7 separate regions of the Homo sapiens genome follow, and regions 2, 3, 4, 5, 6 and 7 are each linked to region 1. The links are contacts of gene promoters, found by promoter capture Hi-C in blood cells and fetal thymus (Javierre and others, 2016). All regions are on one chromosome and are shown on one strand. The core of a region is centred on a gene start or on the middle of the fragment in contact, and the rest is flanking DNA. Distances in the headings are between cores, read along the strand shown.

Region 1 (3,164 bases), core at 328-2,827:
AGGAGATGCTGATAAACCGGAAGTAAACATTGCTTGCTCTGGTCTTGCTGTTTGCAACCCCCCCAAAATATGTGGGTTAAAACCCTAACCCCCAAAACGATGGTGTGAGGAGGTGGGGCCTTAGGGAAGTGACAAGGTCATGGAGGTGGAACCTCCCGAGTGGGATCAGTATCCTCATACAGAGGCCCCAAGAGCGGCCTGGCCCCTTGACTTGGTGAGGACTCAGGGACCGCGCCGTCCCAGAACCAGAAGGCTCTCCCCAGGCAGTGTCTGCTGGTACCTGGATCTTGGACTTCCAGTCCCCAGAACTGTGGGAAAGAAGCTCCTGTGTTTTATAAGCTACACGGTCTATGGTGTTTTGCTAAAGCAGCCTGAATAGACTAAGAAATCACTCAACAAACACTAATTAAATTAAATGCTAGGCCATCAGAATACGAAGGGGAAGAAGACAGAAACACTCGCCTCCTGATCCAGCATCCAGAACGCTCTGGGGCCCAGCAAGAGGCTGTGCTCGCGTCTTTCTCGTATCTGATCTTCGCCTCCATCCACCTGCTCGCTGGTCCTTGGCTGTGCCTCTGATACCCCAGTGTGAGAACGTGGAGTTTCTTAAGGCAATTCTCTTATCATATTTTCTCTACTTGTCACAACAAACTTACAGGAAAGTTGTTATTCCATGCGTTTTAGAGCTGGGGAGCATAGCCCCCGTGGGCTGAGCAGCTGGCCGAAGTCCTCAGCCCCTGTGGTGAGGTGCAGCTGGAGTGTGATTCTCCGGGTCCTCAGATGGGGGCATCCCCTTGAGGCCCCGCCTCTTGGCCAGGCTGCAGCCCAGGACCGTGCCAGGTGTGTGTTATCTATATTTGGACACACGCTGTGCGAAACGACGGGCACCCTGCAATTATCCGTGTGGTGTAGACGCAGTGTACGTCTGTGGTAATGGCTATAAATAAGCCCCGACTTGCCGACTAGGCACCGCTCCTCTTTTGGGTAGGCAGTTCTTGCTAAAATAGCCCTAAGATACAATCGAGTGAAGACCTGAGTCGTTCTTGAAATAAAAAAAAAAAAACGAACAAACACACGAACATGCACACACACGCTCACAAACCCAGGGGCTTGTGCACCTCCCTCCCTCCACAGCCGACCTCAACTCGGGTGTCCAGGCCTGCGAATGGCACAAATGCTCACTGAAATCCATGTCATTATTAAAGACTCATTCAGGAGTTGCAATTTGTGAGCCAGGGAACCTGTAGCTCGAAAGGATTGAAGATATGTCTGAGAATTCACACGTAAGGATTAGAACTCATGGAGGAGAGTTGCGGGGAGGGAGCGTGGGAAGTCAGTGCCCTGCCCTCTCTTTCTGGGTCGGGGGCTGAAGTGTCACACCCGGTTTCCTGGGAAAAGTGCAGTTTGGGACTCAGAAAGGACACGTTCCAGTTTTGAATCGTGATTTCCCCCGCCCTCAGTTTGAACAAGAAGCTTTTCCTCCTGAGGTCAGGCTGGTGATTTACGATGTGGGTATTGATGTGGGGAGAGGCAGGCCCAGGCGTCTATATATAGTAGCTCCTCAGACCTTAAACGGGAGGGAGGCACAGGCGCTTGCTTTGCAGGAGTCAGCTCTGCCTTCCTCGGCTGGAGTGTGGGTGGCTTGGTGAGCCGGTGGTCAGGAATTCTCTCTCCTCCTTGCAATTTTCCTTTCTGTCTGGGTAAGTGTCTTTCTCTTCTTGCCTTTTCTAATTTGTGGCTTTAAGGGGAGGACCGGTAACTTCTGCACTCACATTTTCTAAGTACCTCTACTTCAGGGTCAAGAAGAGAGAGCCAGTGCACCCCGTCGCAGGCACCCTTTACTGTGGAAAACAGAGCAATTAGTTCTGGGATCTGTATTTCTTTGACGAGGTTTTATGCTCAACTAACATTTTATTTCCCACAGCCGTGGTCTTTGCTAAGTGCCGTTTAGCACCCTGCGGCGTGTGCTTTGGGTTTTAGCCCTGGTCTCATCGTGGCCCCAGGGGGCCCCCCAGTCAGTGGACTGATGTCTGCAAGTTTCATGAGATTCTCAGAAACGAAAGCCTCCCCCGAGGAGAGGGCTGACTTATAAAGGTGTGAAATAATAAAACTGGATATTTTCTTAAGGGAAAAAAGAGTCGAGGGTCATTCAGCTTAGACCTAGCCTATATTATCCACGGTATGGGAAAGAGAACAATCCTTGTCAGGACTTGCAAGTTTTTGCCCAAAAATGACAGCGTTCTTACGGCTGTTTTCTTCTTTGTGCTGTTGGGTGTGTTGTGACCCTTCAGACTTCTTCAGCTCCACTCCGCTGATAGAGGCTGTGCCTTCTCAGGGCGTGCTCTTGAAATGCAACCTGCTGGAGAAAGACAGTGGGGCTGGGTGGTTGCACGTGGAAGGCACCGGAGGCAAACGGAAGGAAGGGGTTTGCCATCACTGGGAACACCTGGCCTTTTCTAATTCTCCATTTCACATTCCTTTCTTACTAAGTAGAAGTAAAACAGGACTCAAAGAAAGCGTGGAACAAAGATAATTTAAGGCGTTATTTAATAAACCAAGTCCCAAGCTAAAACTTGTCTTGGGAGCCAAGGGCTTAGCCACTTGTGGCACAGGCCAACGCTGCGTGTCTGGGAGTCCCTTTCCCCTCTAGAAAGCTTTAATTTGGTGTATTTATTGACTTTGACATTTTTAACTGTACAAACAATTTCCTTCATTAAGTGGAAGTCAATGTTTTGTACTTCAAACATTTTTGCAAATTAAAACCCATCCTGGTGACATGAGGAATGGGCTCCACACGTTGTTTGCAGGAAGGAATTAGGATGGGGATATCAGACACGTGGTCCCCTGCACTGGAGGAGAGGCTCGCGTTTCATCCTGGTGTCATGATTCCTAAACGTGTCAGGAGCATTCCGGGAGTGGCCGGGGAGCTGGGCTGTGGTGGAAAGTGGGCTGGACGCTGTCAGGAGAGTCAGCTGGCGCCTGGGTTCGGCCGTGGCCCTACCGGTGACCCGGGCAAGTCATATTTCCCTGGGGACGGTCTGTGCTAACAGTACAGCGTGGCGCCAGGATTATCTACACACAGGCTGTCCAAGCTGGGGGACTGTTAGCTGCCACCTCACTCAGCCCCCTGTTTTACAGCAGAGCAGGTGGAGGCCCCTGAGCTG
Region 2 (3,164 bases), core at 290-2,789, 250 kb after region 1:
GAATGAAAGGGCTGGGAAGGCCCCCGGCAGCCCCCATGTGCGTGAGTTAGGGCACCCAGCTCTTCCGGAAGGTAACTCAGGCTGTGAGAACCCAGGGAACAAGTCAGCATCGGGGTGAACCAGAAGCCCCCTTGGATCCAGAGTCATTTTGGAACGTGAGCCCTGCCCTTTGCCAGGGATGTAGAAGGAGTTCTGGGGTGTTTCGCGAGTGTGGTGTCGTCACACCCTGGGTGCTGGATGGGCATCCTCATTGTCAGCTCGGCAGTGACCAGGCAGATAGAGCCACACGTTCTCATCAGGAACCTCTTCATTGTCTTGGGCTGGGCTACAGGATTCCTCACAGAGAAGTCAAGTCGCCAGTGGCTCTCTTTCCAGTGACTGCCCATTTCTCCGTTCCATACATATTTTCCAGACATGGTGTGTGCACGGATGGGCTGGAAGCTGCAGGACTTTCAGTCTGGTTTGTCCTGCAGCTAAAAGACCACAGACATGTGGCAACTGGCCCCGTCCCCAACTCACTGCCTCGGAACCTGCATTTCTGTCGGTTCTCCTGGCCGCTCACATGCACGGTACAGCCTGAGGAGCCCTGTCTGGAGTGTGTTATTGCAACCTGCCAATCCTTAGTGCCAAGGAAGGGGCAAATGTCACTTGCAAAGCTGCAATTTTCTCTGCTTATCTCTTTTTGAGGATAAAATAGGTGAAGGCCATGGCAGCAGGGAGAAGGCTTATGGTTTATAGCTAATTCACCCGGGGAAAGTAAAAGTGCATTCTGTAATTAATCACATCTCCAGTTTGCCCATTATCCTGATCCTTCTCCTCAGATTCCTCTATAGCCCCTGGCCTGTCCATTTTGTGGCTCCTTAACTACCAGGTCAGAGGTAGATGAGATGAAGAAGGGAGATGAGAGGCATTCAGATCGACCCGTTTTATTATTTCCTTGGAGGCTCTTGGAGACTGCTTGATGAGTGAATGCTGAGAATAATGGGTGGAATGCATTAGCGGGTGGCTCGTGCCATGATTAATCTGATTCCTGTCCCATTAATGCTACTAATTGGCTACCCCAAGAAGAAAATGTCCCTCAGCTTCAGGGTGTGGGAAAGCGACGCTACCATGTTGTTAGTAGCCGAGATCATTAACTGTTGCCTTTTTTATTTGCCTTTTCTCGAACCAACCAGACCAACGACATTGCTGTGAACACCTCTGTAGAATTAGCTTCGGCTTGGGCTCTCGGAATCAGCCGTTACTCCCCCAACAATAATCTTTTGGAAATCCCCAAAGCCTCTGTAATTATGGAATTTGACGAAGGCTCTGTTGTGGATTTTGTTTCTTCTCTCTTCTCTCTCCCATTCCTATCCCTGTCAGTGCCCGGAAAAGCCGAAAGGATCCAGGAAAACACTGCAGGAGAACACTGGTAAAGTGGTCCTCAGTGAGGGCAGCTCAGGAGCTTGGAGCAGGAGGGAGAGCTCCCCTGACTCATCACAGCACAGGGCACTGGAACCCCAGGAACAGTGCTCAGTTCCTTCCACGGGAGCTCACGTGGAAAATAATCTCACCATGCCAGCTGCAGTTCTCAGACCCTCTGATCCATAACCCAGCACGGCGGGGCGTGGTAGCCTCACAGTGTTTGTTTTAAATTGTGCCATCCTTGGATTCCCCATTTTGGTCTCCGTCCTCCTACTCTCTCCCTGCTTCAGACAGAGGTGTCAGACAAAAGGGCTCAACTTGGTATCACTGGAAACCCGGCCAGTAGCTCATCAGCTCGTCTTCCAGGCAGGTTGCTGCGATCCTGGCAGGCCTGACGGTGAGGCCTGTGAGCTGGAATGAGCTGCGCTGAGAAACTGACCTCTCCAGTGGGCAGGATGGAGCCACCCATTGAGGCTGAAGACTCGTGTGTGTTCTCATGATCCGATGACCCAGGGAAAAAATAAAACCAAATCAAACCAACCAACCCTGTCTGCCAGGAGGACAGAAAGAATGCCCCAAATTTACTATTTTACTTTTATTTTTTGAGACATGGTCTCGCTCTGTCACCCAGGCTGGAGGGCAGTGGCACCGTCATGGCTCACTGCAGCCTCAACCTCCTGGGCTCAAGTGACCCTTTGCCTCAGTCCCCTGAGTAGCTGGGACTACAGGTGTGTGCCACCACACGCGGCTAATTTTTTGTATTTTTTGTACAGATGGGATTTTGTCTTGTTACCTAAGCTGGTCTTGATCTCCTGGCTTCGATCTGCCTGCCTCAGACTGCCAGAGTGCTGAGATTACAGGTATGAGCCACCGTGCCTGGTCAGAATGTCCCAAATTTATTTAAGGAAAGAATCAGTTTGGCATTTTTTTAAAAAATTGGTGCAGGAAAATACACACGTTGGGTATGACACCTTTAAAGCTGGATATTTTTCTCTGTCTTGTCTCAGGTGTCTTTCAGATGTCCCTTTATTGTCTAAACTTCTGACGACTTGTGCTCAGTGTCTGGCAATCTTGAGAACTCTTCTCTGCGTGCAAAGTCGCATATTTTTAACACAAAGGAAATGAGCAATCTTTTGGGATGCTTTTATGGGTATCTAAAAAGTCCATTATTTTGCCTGTTTTGATGTCCTTATCAGGAACACAAAGCAGAAACAACTTCCTAAACAAATCTCAGCTACTTGAGACGTCGTATGTTCTATCTTTTCACACTTCTTTTTTGTTAGCTACATTATATCTTATAGCAAATTCATTTCTTGGCCCTTTGTTCACAGAGCAATGCAGAACATCTTAGTCCCTGTGATAATAATAGTAATTATCAGTTATGCAGAGCCTTGCCTCGCCAAAGCCCTTGGCAATCATCAATTAGCTAATTCAAACAGCATCCCTGTGAGAGGACTGCTCTTGAGAATATTATAATGCACAACCATTATGTGCTGACCTTTGACTTTGCTGTGAGAAGGACCAGGTTGACGGCTGAATTTAAAGGCTGGTATAATTTCCATTCATCCTAGTGGATGCTTCAGTGAGTGCATCTTTTCAAGTTAAATATAGTTAATAAATACACATTTTGAAGTGGTTTATATACATTTCTGTGCCTTCGTAACCAAACAGGTCTTATTTCTCCTGCATCAATGCACACTTTGTCTTACCCATTTTACGTTGCAAATGTATATTCCAGGAACATTTCCTAAGTGCCTATT
Region 3 (3,164 bases), core at 468-2,967, 230 kb after region 1:
AGTTTGTCCTTGTGTGTGTATATATATGTACAGGCATACACCATGGTTAATATAATCAGTGTAATTAGACTCTAGCATGTCCTTGTGTATGTATATATGTACACGCGTACACCCATGGTCAATGTAATCAGTGTAACTGGACTCTAGCATGTCATAGTGTGTGTATATATACATATATATATATATGTATATATACACACACACGCATACACCCGTGATTAATGTATTAATGTAATCAGTGTAGCTGGACTCTAGCATGTCTGTGCATGTGTGTGTGTGTGTGTGTGTGTCTATGTACTCACATATACCCATTGATATGGTTTAGCTCTGTGGCCCACTCAAATTTCATCTTGAATTGCAATCCCCACATGCCGAGGGAGGGAGGTGATTGGATCGTGGAGGTGGTTTCCGCCATGCTGTTCTTGTGATGATGAGTGAGTCTCATGAGATCTGGTGATTTCATGAGCGTCTAGCATTTCCCCTGCTTGCATTTCTCTCTCCTGCCACCCTGTGAGTAAGGTGCCTTGCTTCCCTTTCACCTTCTGCCATGATTGTAAGTTTCCTGAGGCCTCCCCAGCCATGTGGAACTATGAGTCAAATAAACCATCTTCCTTTATAAATTACCGAGTCTCGGGCATTTTTTATAGCAGTGTGGAAACGGACTAATACACCCATGATTAATGTAATCAGCATAAGTGGATTCTAGCATGTACTTATGTGTGCATGTATGTACATGCATGTACCCATGATTAATGTAGTTCAACTAGACTTTATCATGTATACGTCCTTGTGTGTATACCTGCACAGGTGTGTTTATGTATATGTGTATATGTGCATTTGTGTATATAAATCTGTGTATAAGTGATTTGAAGATTAAATGTAAGCAGACATGGAGAAAAAGCACAGCTATCCAGCAACATGCCCCTGGCGTGTGTAGTCAGGCAGTCAGTGCTATCTGCTGTGAGGTACTTGTGTAGCAGGCGGGATAATATGATACAGAATATGGATGGATGCTCGGCTGTGTGTTGCCAAGCTAATCTCCTCTGCCTTGACTTTTTCCTTTCCTCCTCCCTCCTTCCCCTTGGAGTCATCTTGTTGACTATGGACTACAGAGTTATGTGTAAGTGGCTTCAGTGGGGAGCAAACAGGACAGCTCTGTTTGCCTTCGCCTCCCGAGGAGAACCTTTTCTGCACATCTGGTTTCCCCTTCACTATGTGATGCAGGGAAATTCCGGAAAATGCAGATGGAGAAAGTGCATCCACGAAGCTTCCACAGCTATGTGTATGTGTGTGCCCTACACATGTGCTTGCGTTTGAACCATGGGGTCTCTCGGGCTTACGATCAACTTGCCAAAAACTTTAGATCTCATTGAAAGCATGTGCCCTTTCACCCGTGAGCTAAACCTTGGGGAATCACACAGACTTTAACTAACCTAAGTGATTGAATACCTCTCGTTCATTTGGTTAGTGGACATGCTCATAGGGTGCAGGCCACTACCCTGGAGACACTTTCCGAATGGGAAACAGAAAACAGATGTGAGTCACACACACACAAAAGTTACCTCTGGAAAAATAGGATGGATTCTGTTTCCTCTCCTTCTAAAAGACTGTATTTAAACTGGTTCTGGTTAGTAAAGACAACATAAATATCTTTTCCTAAAATCTGTACCAAATTACTTCACTGAGAAGTCTCTGAGGATGTGCAGCCAGGACCGCAGGTCATATATTTTAGCCGCGTTGGGTCACTCACCTGGAGAGCCTGTCCTCAGCCCCCGGCCTCGCCCCACAGAGGCTGATTCGCTGGGCGGGTGGATCCGCTCGTTCTGTTTCTGATTAACTCGCGGGTCATGAGGCTGCTGTTGCAGGGAGATCCAGAGCTGGAAAACACCGCTATAGACCAGCACAACTTCACATTTTGGTCTACATGGATCATTTTGAGAGTATGATTAAACATCTAATCTCCAATTAAAAAGAAATCCATGTGTATACCTCTTTCCAAAATATCCCATATATATTCAGAAATAAGGGCTTTTTAATACAAAATCACTTAATTCTTCCAAACGTCGTTATCTGTGCCACCTACAGTTGCAACCACGTTCAAGGTAGAGACTGACTAGCTTGATACAATGGATGTTTAGGATTATCTCTTGCAGGGAAAATGGAGAAAATAAGCTTTTTTAATATTGCTCTTTAAACCTAGATATGTTGGCCATTTTAGGGTTTACTTACATGATGTAAAAAGTACCTACCAGGGCAATAGTTTTAAAACCCTTATTTCCAAAGCTTATAAATGCTTCTGTGGGTTCTACCTTAATTGTTATAAACAGCCTTTTCTCCATCTCTCATTCACTCTGCTTCAGGCCTGCCCATGTCTCAGCTCTGTCCAGCTTGAATTAAACTGTTGTTTAGGTTGGGAAGTGTTAATGAGTCCCTAACACTTCTCAGCTGTCCAGTCTCAGCTCAAAATAGCTTCCTCACCAGACATCTCTTTAGGGGCTGACCGTCTGCAGGCCTCATCTGGCCCAAATATGTATTGTCAGCCCACAGAGGCGTGTGGTTTAGGTGCTGGCTGGTTTGAGAAGTAACCTGAACATGATGTTGGCTAGGCATACACTTGGTTTTGCCACAGTCTTCGCTATCCCCTACTGGCCAGCCTGGCCGATTCATCCCTTTATGTTAGTGCTGGGCCTTTCCTGAGTAGCTCCGGTTGACTTCTAAAAGTAATGTTAATTCAATCTCCCTTTCTGTCTTTACCTACCTATCTGGTGACTATTTATACACACTACATCTAGTAAATATACTAAATAACTATGTATAGTGCACCAAATGTTTTGGATTAATATTAGCTCCTTTTCCCTTGGAACGTGATTCTTCCTTCTTAATACCCGGATTTATTTCTAGGGTGTTTACATCATTCGAATAATTTTGTTTAAATCATTTAATTTAAATAATTAATTGTAAAACATTTAAATTACGTATACTGGCTGGGAGCAGTGGTTCACGCCTGTAATCCTAGGACATTGGGAGACTGAGGCTGGCAGTTTGCTCGAACCCAGGGGTTCAAGGCCAGCCTGGGCATCATGGAAATGGCCTGTCTGGCCGGGCGTGTTGGCTCATGGGTGTAACCCCAGCACTGTGGGAGGCCGAGGCGGATGGATCACCTG
Region 4 (3,164 bases), core at 418-2,917, 220 kb before region 1:
TGTTCCTGCTACTGTAACAAAACACCAGAGACTGGGTCATTTATAGACAACAGGAGTTTATTTCTCACAGTTCTGGACGTGGGGAAGTCCAAGATCAACGTGCCAACAGGTTCAGTGTCTGGGGAGAGCCTGGTCTCTGCTCACAAGACAGCACCTTGAGCACTGTGCCCTCACTGGTAGGAGGGGTGAACAGCCCCCTGGCACTTCTACAAGGGCACTAAGCCCATCCCTCATGACCCACTAACCTCCTCAAGGCCCCACCTCTTACTGCTATCACGTTGGTGATGAACTTTCAGTCATCAAGGGGGATGCATTGAGGCCACTGTATATATCCCATGAAGTAGCTTACTCTTGTGTTCGGCTTGATTCTATTTACAAAGTGAACACACCCATGTGTCTGCAAATCAAATCAAGATGTAGTCACCGTTTTCATCACTCCCCAGAATTCCTTTGTCTTTTCTGAGACAATACCCCCAAAAATAACCACTGTTCTGATTCCTATTATTATAGGTTGGTTTGGCACATTCTTGAATTTCATAAAAATTGAATCATACTATATGTGCCCTTTTGTCTATGTTTTTCATGTTTTCAAGATTCATTGTTATTGAACATATCAGTTTCTTCCTTTTTATTACTGTATTATTAGTATTCTATTATTCTATGAAGATACAATACTTTATGAGTTCACCTGTTGATGGAATTTGGGTTGTTTCCAGTTGCGAAGTATTTGAACTGTTTTGAAGAAAGAATTCTTGTAAAAATCATTTTTTTTTTTTGAGACAGGGTCTTGCTCTGTCCACCCAGGCTAGAGTGCAGTGGTGGTGAACATGACTCATTACAGCCTTGACCTCCCAGCCTCAAGCGATCCTCCCACTTCAGCTTCCTAAGTAGCTGGGACTGGAGGTGGAGACTATCATGCTAGACTCCTGGGCTCAAGCAATCCTCCACCTTGGCCTCCTAAAGTGCTGGGGTTACAGGTGGGAGTCACCATGTCTGGCTGTAAAAGTCTTTTAAGGGACTTATGTTTTCACTTGCCTTGGGCAAACCTAAAAGTGGGATTGCTGAGAAATGGGCAAACAATTAATCAGAGTGGTTGCGCCATTTGCACTCTCATCGCCTTGTATAGTGGTTCCAGGGGCTCCACATTTTTACCCTTGCCATGTCGGTCTGCAGTTTCAGCCGTGCTTGGATGACGGTGGTGGCATCTCATTGTGAGTTTACTTTGGGTAACACTGAGCACTATTTCCTGTTCTTGTTGGCTATCAGTACATCTTTGGTGAAGTATTTACGTCTTTTGTTTATTTTTAAATAGACTTGTTATTGTTATTTACAGGCTTGTTATTGTTATATTGTTTTGTCCCTTTTGAAATAGACTTGTCTTGTTATTGTTCATTTGCAGGAGTTCTCTATTTACCAGGACTATGGTTTGAACGCGTTTTCCCCAAAGTTTATGTGTTGGAAACTTGACCCCCAATGCAGCAGTGTTGGAAGGTGCCTACTAGGTGGTGTCTGGGTCATGGGGGTATGACCCTCATGGATGGATAAATGCCATGACTGAGGCGGTGGGCTCCTTATAAAAGAATGAGTTTGGGTGAAACCTCGTCTCTACTAAAAATACAAAAATTAGCTGGGTGTGGTGGCACATACCTGTAATCCCAGCTACTCGGGAGGCTGAGGCAGAATAGCTTGAACCAGGGAGTCGGAGGTTGCAGTGAGCAGAGATCGCACCACTGCACTCCAGCCTGATGACAGAGCAAGACTCCGTCTCAAAAAAAAAAAAAAAAAAGATAAGTTTGGCCCATTTTGCATCCTCCCTCCCCACCTCCGCCTCCCACCTTCCGTCATGGGATGATGCAGCCCGAAGGTTCTTGCCAGATGTGGCTCCTTGATCTTGAACTTCCCAGCCTCCAGAACTGTGAGAAATAAATTTCTTTTCATTGTAAATCACCCATTCCCAGGTATTCTGTTACAGCAGCACAACGTGGATTAAGACAAGCCATTTGTGGGATATATGCATTGCCCCTGTGTTCTCCCAGTCTGTGGCTTGCCTTTTCATTTTCTTAATGATGTCATGAGATGAGTAGAAATATTAAATTTTGATAAGCCATTTAATCATTTTTAAATGGTCGGTCCATTTTCTGTCTTACCTGAAGATCCGTAAGATCTTTTCTTATATTTTATCCTAGCAACTTTATAATTTTTACACTTAAGTCTATGATCCATCTGAAATTCCTAAATTCTATTTTAATCCTAATAGTTTATTTGTAGATAATTTTGTTTTTTAACATATATAATCATATTGACTGTAAATAATCAGTTTTTCCTCCCTCAATCCTTACACTTTTTGTTTTTATGACCTACAACACTTGTTAGATGCTGCAGGACAATGCTGAATAGACTACGGAGAGTCAAAGATTTTCATACACCCTTATCAGTACAAGTAGATAAAAAGTACAAGTAGATAAAAAGTACAAGTAGATAAAAAAATCAGTAACAAATATGACCTAATTGACATCTGTAGAACTTTATGTCAGTGAAAGCATGTTCTCAGCAAGTGCTCATAGAACATTTACCAAAATAGACAATGTTGGGCCATGAAGCAAGTGTTTGAAAATCTTAAACGACAAAAATAAAACAGCTGATGTTTTAAGGCCCGGTGGAATTAAACTTTAGTTACAATAAAAAGAAAACCAGAAAGTCCCCATATATTTGAAAGGTGAACCTAACTTTTCTAAATATCCCATGGGTCAAAGAGGGAATCACAATGGAAAATCCCAACTCTTCCATATCCGGGCTTACGAAAATAGGGATGTATCTGTGAGGAACGCCTGAATAAAGCAGACAGACAGGATCTATTGGAGCTCCAAATCAGGGGATTTTCTGCCCAACCTGCCTGGAAGGCATTGCTCTGTGGCCCTACTCAGTGGTGTCCCTGGCGGCCCTGAGTTTAGGGGCTCAATTTCATCCATTGAGAAAATGAGTTGTTTATTCCATACACAGGACTATTTCCTCTTATCTCTACCTTTTTAGAAAACACTACAAGTATCAGGATTTTCTCATCGTATTTAGGTAAACAAGAACTAATTTAGTTGACCTTCTTACTTCTGTTGATCAAGACCATTGATCTGACCATTGATCTGTGCAGAAGATCTCTGAATAAGGTA
Region 5 (3,164 bases), core at 305-2,804, 210 kb after region 1:
GAATGAAACGAGGCCTCATAAAGAATGGCAGCTTATGCAGCTTACTTTTAAAAAGAGGCTCTGAGAAACCTTTAGCTTTTTCAAACTTCCAAATTTTAACCCCAAATCCACTAGAGCCCAAATACCCACATTTGTCTCTGAATAATCGTTTGCTTTTGGTTAAGGATGGTTACACTAGCACAATTTGTTTTTTTTTTTGAGATGAAGTCTTGCTCTGTTGCCCAGGCTGGAGTGCGGTGGCATGATCTCGGCTCACCACAACCTCCACCTCCTGGGTTCAACAATTCTTGTGCCTCAGCCTCCTGAGTAGCTGGGACTACAGGCGAGCACCATCACGCCCAGCTAATTTTTGTATTTTTGTTACAGATGAGGTTTCACCATATTGGCCAGGATGGTCTTGATCTCTTGACCTCATGATCTGCCCGCCTCGGCCCAGTCACACATGTTTCCCTACGCAAGCTCCCTATTGATTGGAATGATGAATATTTCCAATGGATCGATTTTCAATGGTGGAAGAAATTTGTCACTTGCATAGGTTTGTCATTTGCCTAGGCGAAAGGTTGCTTGATCTTAGAAGCGTCATTGCCTCTTTTTGAGAGGAAATTGAATTTCAGAAAAGGCTGTTACTAGATGAAGTGAGAACTGATTGAAATTATCAGTCACTCCTAATACATTTTGGGTGGACAGAGCCATGTGGAGGAGCTTCTAGGCTGCACATGAGATGGACATATTCCAAAGGCCCATGTGAATATACACATCTGTATTATGGGAGGAGAAACATATGCATGCCTTAGTAAAAACCAGCCAGTAGCATAGAAGAGCCAGCTTTCAATGAGCAGAGAGCAGGGTGGGAAGCAGGAGACAGGCCCACTCTGGTTGGGTGGTTAGGAGTTGGTAAGTCCATAGGGAGGATACATGCGGAACACCATTGAGTGCTATTAGCTTGGTGGCCTTGGGCGGCCAGAGTTGGCGTGGATGGGTAGATGACGTCAACAGAAGGAATGAATAATCCTGCTGGGAGATACTTTCTCCTCTCACGACTTTGCTCAGAGCTTGACACGAGGATTCGTGTTTGATATGAAACACCATTCAAGAGTTTTACTCACAATTTATGCCACATATGCAAAAACAAGCAGAAGAAGAAATGAAAATATGTAACATACGATCTTCAAGAATAATTCAGATATTTAAATAAATGGGAGAGAGAATTTTGCAAGCTTCTTAATTACAAATAATAAAACCGTTTTAAGAGAAGTTTGTTTCCTGTTTTCCCTAAGCATAGTGTATGCAAGCATAAAAATTCCATGTGCCTGTCTTGCTATCTGTCGGTGAGAAAGATATCAAGTTCCTCTCCTTTAACAGGTGGATATCAATATGTTTTTATTTATGAGTGGATTCATTTAATTCCTGGATATGATAGTTCTCATATATTTCTATAAGCTGATTTCTGTGTTATCATAAATTCTAAGTCAGCATTTCTATACCCAAAAGAGCATTTAAAAGGTATCACAACTAATCATTCAGCTAAAACCAGGGCTTTATCTGAGCTCCTGCAGACACAAACACATTGATCCTACAGAGATGCTGATTTCTCTGGTGCTGTAGGAAGCACCAATGGGAAAAAACTGACTTTAAAAGTCAGTTAAGGAAGTTTAAGAGTATTATCTGGTGTGTCTGAAGTTGGAGTTATTTAGGTTTTATTTTTTCAGACACCAAATGACTCACCTACTTAGTGTAAATTTATGTTTAAAAAAATAACAATTTTCATCTCTAATTAATGCTTCACTTAACCCAAGCTGGACATAAAGGAAGATCATCAAATAATATGTGATTTAGCTCTTGTGATACAAACATGTGAAGGTCTGGGTCATTTTGATTCTGTTAAAATGAGCTAAGCTTTTCATTTCTTTTTCCTATCAAGAAAGGCTCTCGAGCGACTGTGTGGTCAGGGTAGGAGAGGCTGAGGAAGGTTGGGGGCCATAACCTCGGGTTCGGTGTGAGGTCCGGGACGGCCTGGGCCTCAGGGACAGCTGCAGCCAGGTCAGGAACACGTGCGGCTCTCCTGCTTGGCCATTTTGTCATTGTCGTTCTGTGTTTTTTGTTGTCTGTGTGTTTTCTTGTTTGCATTGGGCTCTATGAATATTTTTATTTTGACTTGAGTGAAACCTTGGATTCACCAAAATGTCTGACAAATCGTTCCCCATCCTCCACCCCCCACCCCCCACCATCCCACCTGATTTGGTCAATCATCAAACATTAATTGAACATTTACTGTCTTCCTCGCCTGCTAGTACGTGCAGTCATGCCTCACTTAATGACAGAGCAATGTGTTGTTAGGCATCTTAGAATCTGTGAAATTTCTTAAGTAAAATTGGAATATTGTTACGTTTGGATTAAGTATGACTGTGCTCAAGACAAACTCATCTGCTTTTCTGTCTCCATGTAGATTTTAATCTACATCCTTTGGCATGCATCGGCATATATGTACCATGCTTGAGTTTGTGTGTGTATGGGTCACCGTAGTATATGGGGCTACTGTAGAATATGTGGTTTGTTGTTGACTCAAGCATTGTTATGGGGTGCATGACTGTATTTGTGGGATGTATGGTAAAGGTAGATCAAAAAAATCTACTTTGACTTTAAGACATTTAAAATATGCCTTTCTTGAATTTGTCCACAATGCAAATTTAATTTCTGAAACCTGAAGATAGATAAAACTCATTTTAATTGAGATGAAAACACAATCTGAAACCTCCCTAAATTTCTTCAGGGGTAGTTTAGGCTATGATTGATGAAGATTGTCATAACTGTACCACTTTCTTGATGTGAGAATGAGTTAACCCTGAAGCCATAAGTCTTAGTCCATCCAGAATTTTGTAACAAAAATTCCACCACTGGGGCCTGTGAAACAGTAGACGCGCCTTTCCCACAGTTCTGAGGCTGGAAGCTGGAGATCCGGGTGCTGTAGGCTCTGTGTCTGCTGAGGGTTTCCTGACTCAGATGGAGCCTGTTTGCTGCATCCTCCCATGGCGGAAGGGGTGAATGAGCCCCCTTAGGCCTCATTTACGGGGGTACTAAACCCATCTGAGAGGGCTCCACCCCCGTGGCCTAATCACTTCCCAAAGGCCCCACCCCTTAACACCCCCTCATACCATCCCTTTTCA
Region 6 (3,164 bases), core at 177-2,676, 190 kb before region 1:
GAAGCTGGGGTTTTGAGAAGCGGGAATTCCTTCTGTGGCTGCAGCAGGAGTGTTGTGGGAACCGACCCAGCCCAGCTTGCCTGGCTCCCGCCAGGGCCCTGAGGATGGCACAGGACCTTTTGTGTTGGAAAGGGCTTGGCCGAGCTTGCGGGGGAGCCTCCTGGGTTGCAGGCCGGAAGTCCCAGGTCAGGGTGCTGGCAGGCTGTGTGTGCTCCCCGGGAATGTAGGTCACAGCCTTCCTTGCCTCTTCCAGCGCCCGCCGGCTGTGGGCACTCCCGGGAGTTCCTGCAGCTGCACTGCCAGGTGGCTCCTCGTCCCTGTGCTGGCCTCTGCTGTCATGAGGACACTGCCACACTGGGTTAGCCGAGCCTGCTCTAGCACAGCCTCCTGTAAACCAATTGCACCTGCAGTCACCTGTTTGCAGACGAGCTCACCAGCAGACTGGGGGTGAGGATTTCAGCACAGGGATTTAGGGGACACAATTGAACCTGTCAGGGCTGGTGTCAGAACTAAACTTAGGACCCCAAATGCTGGGATTTTTAAAGGCATTCTGCATTGCACTTCACTAAGGGACCTGGGGAGCTCGGGTGGGGTCTGTGATGCCCAGGATCCCCCAGGGCCCAGGGCAGTGTCTGGGATGGACATGCTCAGCACACACCACCTTGAACGCCCGGCCCCATGCTCACCTCAGAGGGCGGCGCAGCCTCACCATCGATGGAGGCCCCCTTGGAGGTGGGGGTCAGAGGAGCAGCCCAGCTCCAGGCGGCCTCGCCCTCTGTCCTGGGCGCCCGCCGTGGGCACAGCTGTGGGCACCCATGCAGGCAGGGGTGCAGCCTCAGGTGGTTACATTGAGCACAACTTCTTTGAGTTCTTGTAGAAAGGCTATTTTTTTCTTACTGGAACTGAATTCTGAGAGGAATTTGTAACACACATCATTCTGCAGAGTCTATATAACTTGAAAGTCTTTCCCTGCAGTGTTTGCAGAGGATGGAGGGCAGCTCCGCCAGTGTCTGCCAGTCTTTCAATGACAGCAGAGAGCTCTTGAATTCCAAGCCCCAAGCCCCTTCCAAGCCCCTCCAAGTCTAAACTAACAAGATTTAAACTTTTGGAGGAATTTCTTGATTGCTTTGATTTCCCTTGTATAGTAGAATTCTACTTAAATTTTACTAGGGGAAAAAGTGAGTTATTTTGGCAAAAAACAGTTTGAAGCTTGCTCATCTGCTCGTCATTCTCTCATTCATTCGCTCACATGATGTGCGTGTCACACATTGCCGCCAACCAGGTTTCCCACTGCACCTTGCTGGGCGGTGAGCAGAGGTGCCGGCTCCGAGAACGCATGCGGTTCTTCTCAGGGTCATACCTGTACCTGGCACACGGGACATGCACTGTCCCAGGTAATCCCACCGGTCTCCCGGGGCTGGTGTCACAGCCCAGGAGGTGGCGTATGGGGAGGGAGTGGAGGGGCCTCGGTGTCTCCTCAGGGCTGTTTCCTGCACACACGGGCTCCTGTTCACGGCCTTCCTTCCTGAAGACTTTAAAGAGAATTCCTTCTTCCTGTATGGGGTACAGTGTGGGTTCCGGTCCCAACAGCTCATGTTTCTCCCCTTGCAGATATTTGAGAGCCTATTTTGTACCAGACATTGTCAAGCTTTTTTAAAAAACAATATTTATAGACTCATGTCTAGGTGTATTTTATCTAATTGTTTGAGTTCAGCGGTAGTAAACTATAATTTCCAAAAAAGAGAGTTGACAATATAAAAATCTAGTGTGATTGTGTCACCGTCTGGATGAATCTGAACATGTGCCTGGCAGTGACTTTTTTTGGGGTGGTCAGAACAGAAACTTTTTTTGGGGTGGGGGACAAGGTGTTGCTCTGTCCCCCAGGCTGCAGTGCGGTGGCGCAATCTCAGCTCACTGCAACTTCCGCTTACTGGGTTCAGGTGATCCTCCCACCTCAGCCTTCGGAGTAGGTGGGACCACAGGTCCACGCCTTCACCCCAGGCTAATTTTTGTACCTTTTTTTTTTTTTAAGAGACGGGGTTTCACTATGTTGTCCAGGCTGGTCTCAAATTCCTGGGCTCAAGCAATTAGTCCTCCTTGGCCTTTGAAAGTGCTGGGATTACACGTGTGAGCCCCTGCGCCCAGCAATACATAAACATTTTCACTGATCATTTTCGTCACGGCATTTAGTCGGCATTGTTTCCGCAGCACGTTTATTTGGCAAACATGATTTTTTCTCCCCAAACGTGAATTCTGTGGAAATGACAGTTGCATTTGGAAAATATTCCAGAAAACAGTTTTTTTGTTTGTTTAACTTTTTACTTTAAAAGGTATTCACCAGTTCATTTCCATAAACTGACTACTTAATGATATGGCAAAAAAAAAAACCCCTTCTGAAATAGGTTTTGTTTACGGTCGCTTGGGAGACAGTGAGGACTGGTTTGAAAGTACATAGTTAACAAGGCTCAAACTCTGGAAATTAGCGGTTCTGTCCATTCCAGCTCTCCCCCTGCTTCGATTGTTTCATTTGATTAGGCTTAAATTCAAAACTTTGAATTTAGAGAAGTCTTTGACCCTCTAGGAAGTGGGTGAGGCTTTGGTATCTGGGCAGAGCAGAGTTCACCATCCAGAAGGACAGCAACACACACTCCTATCAGACGTATGTTTTAAAAATAACACATTTCTGAATCCTTTTTCTTGATTCAATTTTAGTATTTGTCATTCTCATACTTGTAAAACTCGTGAGTGTTGGTGGAAGCAGTTCCAGAAAGCTCGTGGGGTCCCCAGGTGTCATGGTCAGCTGGGGGTCTCATCCCCACCGTCCTTGCAGTGGTAGCTGGATCCAGTTCACGCTGTCGTGGGCCTGGGCCCCTCTGTGTATTTGTGGTGACCTAAAAATCTGTTTCCTTCAAAAGGCACTCCTAGAATGTATGACTAGTTTAGGAGATTCAAAGGAAAATGAAACACCTCAAATTTAAAGGTTGTTTTTAGACCGCTAGAGTTCCCCGGGAGGCGACTTCCCCAGGAGGCTCGGCAGAGAGCGCCTGGAGACTGCGTGGAGTGTAAGTGGGTTGTGTGTCTGTGGGTTGCTCCCTAGCAGGGCTCCCCCTCAGCCCCCTCCGGAGCTGCCTGCAGCCGAGCTGGGCCGTCCTGCTTGGGTGCAT
Region 7 (3,164 bases), core at 438-2,937, 170 kb before region 1:
ACCAAAGGTTGGTTCTTTAAAAATAGTACAAAAATAGACAAGCCTCTGGTTATATTAAGATGACACAGAGAAAGAGGGGAGAGGGATGGAAGAAGGAAGGAAGGAAAGGAAGGAAGGAAAAAGTTGATCAAGAGGATGTAACTGCAGTAGAAATTTGTAAAAATCATAAGAGGATGCTATAAATAACTTTTTATCAAAAAGTTAGATGAAATTAAAAATTGCCTTGAAGAATCAACTATACCCAAAATAAAAACCATGAATAAACCTATAATGATCCAACATAATGAATGGTTTGCTTAACTACTGTGCAGAACAGCCCACCAGGCTCAGATGTTTTTATGCTGGGGTTTATTGAGCCTTCAGGGAGCGGACAAACCCCTCAGTCGCATGCACTGTTCCAGTGAATAGCAGAAGCAAGGATGAGGTGAGAATTAGTTTATAATGTTAGCAGAAACTTGTAAACTCCCTCACCTGCGAAGGTTGATGCTACATTTCCTTCCAGAAATGTCAGGAAGTTGAATCCAGCATGACCCTAACAAGTAAGCAAGAGCCTGTTTTAACCTTTTACATTCATGGCAGCAGTTCAAGGATCCTTTGAGAAGCTCTTGTAACACGATTTCCCCAAATTGATGGACATAAACCCATATGCTTATCTCAGCATGTGTTTAAAAAGCACTTGCTGAGATTCAGTGACCATCCAACATTAAAAACTGCTGATAGAAGGAAACTCACTTAGCTGAATTAAGGACGTGTTCTTAAAATCTACCGCCAACGTAATGGGGAGGAGCTCACGGCGTTCGTTAATTTATTCATTCCGCAAATATGTTTTGGGCAGTTACATACCGAATAGTAGATGGAGGTGTGCCTGCTGTCATGGAGATAGGGTGATTTCATCCTGTTGATCAGGAAAACTCCTAGGTGCTTGCAGGTAAATGTGCCACAAAGAAAGTGAGGACCAAAGGTTAGTTGATGTAAAAACAAGTTTGAAATGCATTTTGGGGTAATTTATCCGGTCGCTTCGGGCATTCCTCGCGGAAGGCGTGGTCTGGTGACTCAGAAGCCAACACACTGCGGGAGTCCAGCCGTCGGCCCCCTGCCGTGTGGCGAGGCCCAGTGTGTCCCCTTTGTAAGGACAGCACAAGCAGGAGTTAATGGACCGGCCATCCATAGCGGTGGTGGGGCAGGGAGCCAGTTTCCGAAAGAAACTCACGCCGCCGCAGGAGGGCCCTGTGGGATGCTCTGTGCAGAGCTGTTGTGCGGACCGGGAGACGGGAAAGCCTGGTGGCTGCAGGAGGGCACCGTGCAGAAGTATCCAGTAAACCACCCACAGCACGGCAGCAGAAAAACGAGGAAATTATATGTGTGTATGTTTATAAGAACTCAGAAGCAATGGTGAGCAAAAAGCAAAAGCAAGAGGAGAAAGTCACAGTGTGCTGGCATCAAGTTGCATTGAGAGGAGCCCGCGGGGTAGTGCACCCGCATTTCCTCGTTGCGTTGAGAGGCGCCCGCGGGGTAGTGCACCCGCATTTCCTCGTTTGAGAGGCGCCCGCGGGGTAGTGCACCCGCATTTCCTAGTTGCCTTGAGAGGTGCCGCGGGGTAGTGCACCCGCATTTCCTAGTTGCCTTGAGAGGTGCCCGCGGGGTAGTGCACCCGCATTTCCTAGTTGCCTTGAGAGGTGCCGCGGGGTAGTGCACCCGCATTTCCTCGTTTCATTGAGCGGTGCCCGCGGGGTAGTGCACTCGCATTTCCTAGTTGCCTTGAGAGGTGCCGCGGGGTAGTGCACCCACATTTCTTCACTCGTTTAGAGTTCGGGGCTCTCAGAACACAGGGAGAATATGGGAGAATTCCTTACTAGATGTTACAGAGGCCACACAGGGCCACTTTTTTCTTTTTTTTTTATTGTGTCAGGTATACGTAAATATTCCTTTCGGTCAGTTCAGCACGTAGGACTGAGTGGCATTAGGTACGCTCACTGTACAGCCAATGCCTCCATAGGCCACTTTTTAAATACGCGGGGCTAAGGGCCAACGACAAGATTGTCATCGAGGACAATAAGTCGATGGCGCTGCCTGGTCACTGGCTTGGTCAGAAAACACATGCCAGGGTGACTGGATTTAACGTTCAATTTTAGAACCACAAATCTGCCAGCCCAGGCATTCAAGAGGAAGTGAGTAATTCACTGAATTGATGGTTAGCAAGACCCTTCAAAGTCCTTGGAAGTTCCGTGTTTGCTGGGGGTCACAACAGCAATTGCGTTTCTAAAACATTGAAAACCACCCGTTTTTCACACATCTGAATAGCCTGAGTTCTAACAGACCTAAGTAAAGGCGTCCAAACGTGCCTGATCCTGTGGCTGGGTCCCAGGAGCCTTAACAAGGCATTGAGAGAGCTGGATTGATTGATTAGACTCTTGCCAACTGCTGTGCGGAATACAGAAAATGCAGCTCCAGCTCTCAAAGGGCTGAAAATCTAATTGAGGTGAAAAAGGTAACATGTGTGAAAACCATGTCTGTGTAGACTTGTTTTGTATGGACCAGAAAAGTTGGAAGTCCAGAGATGGATGCGAGGAAATAGGGGATGGAGTTTCCTTATAACCTCTGGAGGGACAGTCCAGATACATACCGGGGTGTGTAGCGGGTGGAGGTTCTAAGACAGGCTGGAGGAACAGTGCAGACACACACCAGGGTGTGTAGGGGGTAGAGGTTCTAAGACAGTCTGGAGGGAGAGTGCAGACACACACCGGGGTGTGTAAGCAGTGGAGGTTCTAAGACAGGCTGGAGGAACAGTGGAGACACACACCAGGGCGTGTAGGGGGTAGAGGTTCTAAGACAGGCTGGAGGAACAGTGGAGACACACACCACGGCGTGTAGGGGGTAGAGGTTCTAAGACAGTCTGGTGGGAGAGTGCAGACACACCCGGGGCCGTGTAGGGGGTACAGGTTCTAAGACAGTCTGGTGGGAGAGTGCAGACACACACGGGGCTGTGTCGGGGATAGAGGTTCTAAGACAGTCTGGTGGGAGAGTGCAGACACACACCAGGGCGTGTAGGGGGTAGAGGTTCTAAGACAGGCTGGAGGAACAGTGGAGACACACACCACGGCGTGTAGGGGGTAGAGGTTCTAAGACAGTCTGGTGGGAGAGTGCAGACACACCCGGGGCCGTGT

The links. The method cuts DNA at HindIII sites, captures the fragments that hold promoters and counts their contacts. A CHiCAGO score of 5 or more calls a contact.
Region 2: a contact is called between a fragment that was not itself captured here and the fragment with the promoter of MYOM2 in region 1, in 1 of 17 cell types (total CD4 T cells). The highest score is 5.5, in total CD4 T cells.
Region 3: a contact is called between a fragment that was not itself captured here and the fragment with the promoter of MYOM2 in region 1, in 7 of 17 cell types (activated CD4 T cells, naive CD4 T cells, fetal thymus and 4 more). The highest score is 10.0, in activated CD4 T cells.
Region 4: a fragment that was not itself captured here is called in contact with the fragment with the promoter of MYOM2 in region 1 in 1 of 17 cell types (neutrophils); the score reaches 6.4 in neutrophils.
Region 5: a contact is called between a fragment that was not itself captured here and the fragment with the promoter of MYOM2 in region 1, in 7 of 17 cell types (activated CD4 T cells, total CD4 T cells, fetal thymus and 4 more). The highest score is 10.3, in activated CD4 T cells.
Region 6: a fragment that was not itself captured here is called in contact with the fragment with the promoter of MYOM2 in region 1 in 1 of 17 cell types (monocytes); the score reaches 5.1 in monocytes.
Region 7: a fragment that was not itself captured here is called in contact with the fragment with the promoter of MYOM2 in region 1 in 6 of 17 cell types (neutrophils, activated CD4 T cells, monocytes and 3 more); the score reaches 14.1 in neutrophils.

What each region holds. Positions count from the first base shown.
Region 1 is chr8:2,043,469-2,046,632 of GRCh38, forward strand. It overlaps MYOM2 (myomesin 2), which reads left to right and starts at 1,578. Exons shown (of 37, transcript NM_003970.4): 1 at 1,578-1,700. The HindIII fragment of the contact is 1,181 bases long and covers 1,472-2,652 here.
Region 2 is chr8:2,297,089-2,300,252 of GRCh38, forward strand. No RefSeq gene overlaps it. Among named protein-coding and RNA genes, the nearest start is that of MIR7160, 220 kb to the left of the region's middle. RefSeq lists an enhancer at 1,698-2,197. The HindIII fragment of the contact is 4,151 bases long and covers 1-3,164 here.
Region 3 is chr8:2,273,841-2,277,004 of GRCh38, forward strand. No RefSeq gene overlaps it. Among named protein-coding and RNA genes, the nearest start is that of MIR7160, 200 kb to the left of the region's middle. The HindIII fragment of the contact is 905 bases long and covers 1,266-2,170 here.
Region 4 is chr8:1,819,372-1,822,535 of GRCh38, forward strand. No RefSeq gene overlaps it. Among named protein-coding and RNA genes, the nearest start is that of ARHGEF10, 3.0 kb to the right of the region's middle. The HindIII fragment of the contact is 4,377 bases long and covers 1-3,164 here.
Region 5 is chr8:2,256,011-2,259,174 of GRCh38, forward strand. No RefSeq gene overlaps it. Among named protein-coding and RNA genes, the nearest start is that of MIR7160, 180 kb to the left of the region's middle. RefSeq lists a silencer at 2,917-3,090. The HindIII fragment of the contact is 679 bases long and covers 1,216-1,894 here.
Region 6 is chr8:1,853,543-1,856,706 of GRCh38, forward strand. The region is part of intron 2 of ARHGEF10 (Rho guanine nucleotide exchange factor 10); the gene reads left to right. Among named protein-coding and RNA genes, the nearest start is that of ARHGEF10, 31 kb to the left of the region's middle. The HindIII fragment of the contact is 439 bases long and covers 1,208-1,646 here.
Region 7 is chr8:1,871,976-1,875,139 of GRCh38, forward strand. All of the region lies in intron 7 of ARHGEF10 (Rho guanine nucleotide exchange factor 10), which reads left to right. Among named protein-coding and RNA genes, the nearest start is that of ARHGEF10, 50 kb to the left of the region's middle. RefSeq lists an enhancer at 1,404-2,115. The HindIII fragment of the contact is 6,557 bases long and covers 1-3,164 here.